2 separate regions of the Homo sapiens genome follow, and region 1 is linked to region 2. Evidence: promoter capture Hi-C in 16 types of primary human blood cells and fetal thymus (Javierre and others, 2016). All regions are on one chromosome and are shown on one strand. The core of a region is centred on a gene start or on the middle of the fragment in contact, and the rest is flanking DNA. Distances in the headings are between cores, read along the strand shown.

The links. The method cuts DNA at HindIII sites, captures the fragments that hold promoters and counts their contacts. A CHiCAGO score of 5 or more calls a contact.
Region 1: a contact is called between a fragment that was not itself captured here and the fragment with the promoter of RRS1 in region 2, in 1 of 17 cell types (M2 macrophages). The highest score is 5.4, in M2 macrophages.

Annotation. Positions count from the first base shown.
Region 1 is chr8:66,164,450-66,167,422 of GRCh38, reverse strand. The region is part of intron 9 of TRIM55 (tripartite motif containing 55); the gene reads right to left. Among named protein-coding and RNA genes, the nearest start is that of CRH, 13 kb to the left of the region's middle. The HindIII fragment of the contact is 726 bases long and covers 1,050-1,775 here.
Region 2 is chr8:66,427,510-66,430,723 of GRCh38, reverse strand. It overlaps RRS1 (regulator of ribosome synthesis 1), which reads right to left and starts at 1,710. Exons shown (of 1, transcript NM_015169.4): 1 at 1-1,710. The coding sequence starts at 1,592. The coding sequence ends at 495. It overlaps RRS1-DT (RRS1 divergent transcript), which reads left to right and starts at 1,747. Exons shown (of 3, transcript NR_040434.1): 1 at 1,747-1,782. The region is part of intron 1 of LOC102724687 (a long non-coding RNA gene); the gene reads left to right. RefSeq lists enhancers at 143-192, 1,462-1,831, 2,252-2,321 and a silencer at 1,972-2,061. The HindIII fragment of the contact is 6,678 bases long and covers 1-3,214 here.

The sequences.
Region 1 (2,973 bases), core at 163-2,662, 260 kb after region 2:
AGCTGACAATTTTGTGTCATGTAGACAGTGTATGTATTCTTGCTCTTCCTGAAAAAAGAACTGGATTGTGAAGAATTAGGTCATTAATTCTTCACAGACAGGGGTTTCTTACATTGCGTTAGGCAAACAGACCCAACAGGTTGTCCTTAAGAACCATGGGAGGTCGATAGTATTACTATCAGTTATAGATGAGAAAGTTCAGACTCAGGAAGTTTGAGGACCTTGCTCAAAGTAACTCTAGGATAAAGTGCCAAGAGTTGTTCATAGAGACCAGAAGTCCAAAGGGAAAGAGGGCAGCTGGTGTTGTTGCACACCTGAGACTCGGGACAGGGTCAGCCTCTCCACTGAAGGCAGACAGAGAGGCAGGTTGGTTGACAGCATGGGATGCAACTGAAGGATCGGCTCGCCCTCATTTGCAGTGGACAGCTACATCCCTGCCAGGAGTGGAGGCCTAGAAACGACCCACCTGTTCTTGTGAGGCTGTGCCGATCTATCCTGAGTGGTGAGTCAAAGCAGAACAGCCCCTGGTCACGCTGATTTTTGCCTCAGTCCCATGAACCTAAGTGAAGTGGGGATTCATCCACTTTTCTTAGATGCTACTTGGCTTCCATTACACTGCATGCCCCACTTGGTGGAGGACGAGAGATCAAAAGGCAACAAGCTCCCAGCTACTCTGTGATCCTAAGCAAGTCATGCCTCCTCTAGAATCCTCATTTTCCTCCACTATAAAATGGGAAAGTTTAACAGTTCCTACTCTAGTGGGCTGTTGTGAGGTTTAAACGAGAGAATCCTTATGAAAGACTTTGTAGATGATAAAGCAATGGGCACACATTTGTTACAGCCACTGCCACGTGCCATTGTTTTTTCAGATGCATTAACACCTTGGTGGACTAACTCTTCACTTCGTGGAGTGTAGTGGAAGAAGAGGTGTACCATGAAAATCACTGAGATACACAAATAAAGACAGAAAAAATCCCACAGGATGTACAGCACTAACAAAAGTCTTAGGTTAAATCAGAATAATAAACAATTTGAAAACACAGGAAGCTTAGCTCAGCTAGCTGTGTCATAACAGCTCCCCAAGAGAGCTCTCCCAGAGCTGTGTTCACAGAATTGTAGAGTTGTAGGCACAGATTGCCAGGGGAAATGAATGAATTCATTACCCTACTCACACACAATTTACATTATATTTTCCTCTTTAAAATGGATACATCCATTTTAGCTTCCTATTAAAGTGACATTTACTTAGGATGCCATTTGATCCTGAGAAATGTAGTCTACAATTTTAGTATTGACTTTTTTATTGTCCTTCTGGTAAAACCCCCAAATTGACAGTTAATAGGAGATATAGTGACAGATATTGGGGGCCTTGAGGAGATTGAGGAGATGGCAGCCCAGCTGTGGGGACCTGGATGTAAATTTCCCCAAGGCCCCCAATATCTGGCACTTTCTCAGTAGGAAAAAAAAAAAGCCCAGAAAAATAATATTGCAGTTGTAGGGTACAAATGAAAAAGCATTAATAATGTTAATGTAAAGGTCTCATTCAAACTTACTTGTTAAAAAAATGTTACCCTCTCCTACAATTTTTTTTCCTAGGTAAGAATGTCTGCATCTCACTACCATAGCTTCTTATAATTTCCAGGATTATTAGGCCCCGGACAATATTTTGGAGTAAATATAGGCCAGTCCTGAGGACGGATCAGTTTTTCTCTATTGTTATCAAGTTGAAATTCCAGCACGGTCAGGGCGCCTGGCATATCAGCAACTTGTAAGCTTGAATCTCCTAATTTGTAAAACACATAGCAATTGCTCTCAGTAGGGATCTCTGTTTGAAAATAATTTGACACCCTGAATCCTTCAATTAAATTTAGAGAACAGAGTTAAATTTTCATTCACTTCCGTTTGTTTTGGAAAATTAAATAGATCATTTCAAAGAACCTGAGACCTATAGTCACACTCATGGGAAATCATGTTCTTAGTCTCTAGTTTTTTTTTTTAATGCTTTGTAATATCTTGTGAAATTAATCTTCCTCAGAAAAGCAGCTTCTGGCCCTCTAGCCTCCTGCATCTCTCACCTCTCAGTCTCTAGTGGCAGCTGGAGTGGACGTTTGCACTTGAAATAAGAATGTATAGCTTGGTCTCAAAAATCTTTTGCATAAAATGCTTTTATCTTTTTGCAAGTTATACCCAGTAGAGATGCGGGGCTCACAAAGGTTGCTCCTCCTTGGAACTTTGGCCCATTGTCCATCCTGGCTTAGGAAAATATGAATATTTTCAAGGGCGCTGAACCTTGAGTGATGTGAAAGGCTCAGGTCTGGGGACACGTGTATTGGTTTCTGAAAGACTGGGAAATAAACCCTGGGGTTCAAGGGGGAAAAGAGGCTTTGCTAGCCCCTTCCTCCCTTACCCGCTACCAGTCTTTTAAACCATTTAAACCATAAGTCCCCTCCTTCCTTCCTTCCTTCCTTCCTTCCTTCCTTCCTTCCTTCTTTCCTCCTTCCCATTTTTCCTTTCCCTTCCATTTTCCTTTCCTCCCTGCCTTTTTTCTGTAATGTAATGTTTTTTATTTTCCTCTGGGATCACCTTTATAATCTTACAAAACAACTATCACAGAGCCTGGGTTGGAGACTAAGAGGACTGCAGGCTGGTTTTCCTTGGCGACATTTTCTCCACTGCATCTGCCTATAGTAGGCTATTGGCCTTGCCCTCTGCATCGCTGCTATTTGAGAGTGAAGAGCCATAAGGTGTGAGGAACCCACTTTGTTCCTGAGGCTGTCTCTGAGATAATTATGTGTCAGATAGAAAGAAACTGGGGACACTTGGGAAAGGGGAAGGGACTATTTGCACCTTTTTGTTGATACTTGGGCTGGGAACCATTGGACTTTCTCAGCCAAGAGGACAAGCCAGTGCTGGAAGTCACTGGTCCATGACAGGTGGCCTCTGCAGTTTTGTGGAAACTGGTTTAGACAGAAC
Region 2 (3,214 bases), core at 461-2,960:
CACTAGATAAGACATCTTTATTACTTAATCTTTAAAACAGTCACTTGCCTATTCAATTCTGAAACTGTTTGTTTTCTTTCCCTCCCCCGCACTCCCGCTCTGATACACAAACTTGTTGTAAAAATAATGCAGAAACATATACGTCAATCTAAGTCTCTGAAATATGGCCAACTCTACCTCGCCGTATATCCAACATTAAAAAGAAAAAAAAAGGCTGTTTAAGAATAGAACTCATTCCCGGTTTCCACCAAATTATTTCCCTAATTCTTAAATCCTCAAATAAGTTCTTAATCTCCAAAGTCTCGGTTGTGGGAAAAACATTAATTTGTGCAGTCCAACACTTACATACTTTCTTGACGGAAGGGCAATCCTGTCCCTTTAAACTCAATGAAGGCAGCGGCCAGGTCCTTCTGAGTCCCCGTATAATTGCCTAGAACTTAACATTTAGTATTCATAGTCCTTGGTTTACAGACGGGTCCGACAGTTAGAAACTATTACTTCCTCCTCTTTCCTCCTGGGCGCTGTCCTCCTTTTCTCTTGCCACCCAAGCCAGGCGGCCCAGAATTCATCTTGCCTCCCAAGCCCCCTTTCCTCTTCCCTCCCTGGCTGGGCGGGCCCCCTTTCCTCTTGCCCCCAGGCCCCTGCCGGCCTCCCTTTCTCTTGCCCTTCTGGCTCATTTTCCTCCTCTTGGCGGCCTCCTCCTGGTCCTCCTCCCTCATCTGCTTATTGGTGGCCCTAGTCACATCCAGCTGAGGCTTCTTGCTGTTCATGACACGAAGCAGCTCCAACTGGTTCTTTTTCTCGGCTGCAAAGTCCCCGAAAAGGGGTTGAAACTTCCTTTTCTTGCCGGAGCCCCGGGGCACCTTCTCCTTGGGGAGGCGCTCCTGAAAGCGCCCCACAGAGGCGGTGGAGACCTTGGCCACTTGCATGGCGCGGCCCAGCTCCTCCTTACTCTGGTGTCCGGTAGGGTGCAAGCCGGCCGCGCTGGGCAGCTGCATCTTGTGCGCGCGGGCCAGGTTACGCAGCCGGTTCAGCTCGTTCTTGGCCACCCTTTCCTTCTTGGCCTGAATCCGCTTGGCGAACTGGTCCTCCAAGGGGTCGGCATTGCCGGGCACCTCAATCAGCCATTCTTTGGTGTCGTCCCGGGCGCGCTGGTAGCCCCAGCGCCGCCGCCACTGGCCACTCACCTCGTCCCACACCAGGTTGGTCTTCTTCTTGGGACGGATGCCCTTGAGGCGCGCGAACTGCTGCCAGCGTGTAAGTGGCCGCGGTCGGGGCAGAGGCTTCTCTCGCGGCAGGCGTGTGGTGGGCTCCGGCAGCCGCGCCACTATCGCCTCTTCCACGCGCTCCGTGGGCAGCTGCCACAGCTGGTTGATGAGCAGTTGCGTGTTGTCCCGCGCCAGGGCCTGTAGCTCGGCCTCCGGCGTGGGTCCGGCGCACCGCAGCCCGGTCGGGGGGTTCCGGTCCGACGCCAGCAGGTTGCCCAGGTCAAACTGCAGCTCCAGCTCCTTGTGCACCGTGATGCGTTGCAACTTCTCTGCCTCGTCCTGCTCTGCCTTTGCGAGCAGCTCCTCCACGCTCTGGCCCTCCATGGCTCCGGCTCGGCTCACTCGCTTTGGGGCTGCAGCTGAAGTTACTTTTCCTACAGTGGCGGCCCAAACTCCGGCAGCATAACCACGTGCAGATGCCGGGATGCCCAATCCGGAAAAGAAAGGTTCGCTTCCGGAGCGTCCGGAAGCGGCTCGCAATCCGGGCGACCAGAGGAAAGGCCGGCAGAGGGCGGTATGGAGAGATGATGGGATTAGAAGCGGGACCTTTAGGCTGGCGCCAGATAGAGGCGGAGCTGGCCCGAGCAGGCCGCACTGCTAGTTCCAGAGCAGGATTGGGACTACGATTCCCAGGATGCAGGGGGCGGGAGGCGGTCTAGAGGGCGGTCCAGGGACAGCTCGGGGGGCCGCCTAGGGGGTGGTCCAGGGGGCGGTCCGGGGACAGTCTCGCAGGCGGTCTAGAGAGGGCGGTCCCGGGGGGCGATCTAGGGGGCGGTCTTGGGGGGGGCAGTTCAGGGAGTGGTCTTAGGATGGTGGTCCGGGGACAGTCTTGGGGCTCAATCCGGAGGGGCGGGCCGGAGGGTTTGTCCAGGGGCGCGGTCCGGGACCGGGGCGGGTACAAATTCCTGGGACTGCCTGTGGTGTGGGGTTCCAATCAAGTGCGTGTTACAATTTCAGTGTAAATCCGTTGTGAAGATGTTTAGACAATCACCCTTCTTAGGGCCAAATAGTTTCACTGGAGTCATAGTCGGCTTTCAGGGTTCCTAGTTGTGGCCCGAGAAAGATAACATCCCAAAGATACACATAGAGCTAATTGTAGAAGATTCGTTTTGTTTTGGGAGTCAGTGGCTCTGGCAATGAAGCCACCCCGAGTGGGCGCGGGTGTGCACCGACCCTAGTGAGCTAGCTGACTCGGAGATCCGGGATTCTGCAGTTACAGAACCTAGTCTAGTTCAATTAATCTAGTACAGTGCTGAAACTAAGCCACGCTCTGCAGTTACACTGCCTGGGTTCCAATCCTGACTGTGCCACTGTTGGTCCTTCAGCAATTTTACTTGTTGAGGCCGTTTTAAGGCCTGCGAGATAATGATAATAATACTTCCTAGGGTGGTTATAAGATAAATGAGTTAATATCGTCCAAGGGAGGGTTAGACGAGGGCCTGGAGCGTATGAGTACTCAGTACAAATTAGCCAAATACCGATTATTATTTCATTTTCATAGGCTCTGGGAGGTAAGTGCTACATGGTGTTAAGTATGAGTCAAACGGCCTACAATCAGGTATCAGGTCACCATTACTTGGAGAGGATGTTTGATCTAAGCCTTATTTATAAATTGACAAACATAAAACATTAGTTACTGCTACATGGTAAGAACTCAGTATGTGTTAGCTATTAGTATTAACTATGTTATTAATTATTGTATTAACTATATTATTTTCACAGATGAAACAAGGAGGGCTCAGAGAGGTGAAATGACTTATCTAAAGTTATGCAGTTAGGGAATATAAGAACAAGAGATATCTTAACTCTGGTTTTAAGTCTGTAGATCTATTCTCTGCAATGTCGTCCAAGCTCTTGATACTCATTAAAGTGTGGTCTGCATACCAGCAGCATAATATCCCCTGGGAGCTTGTTGGAAATGCAGAACGTCAGGCCTCACTCTAGAT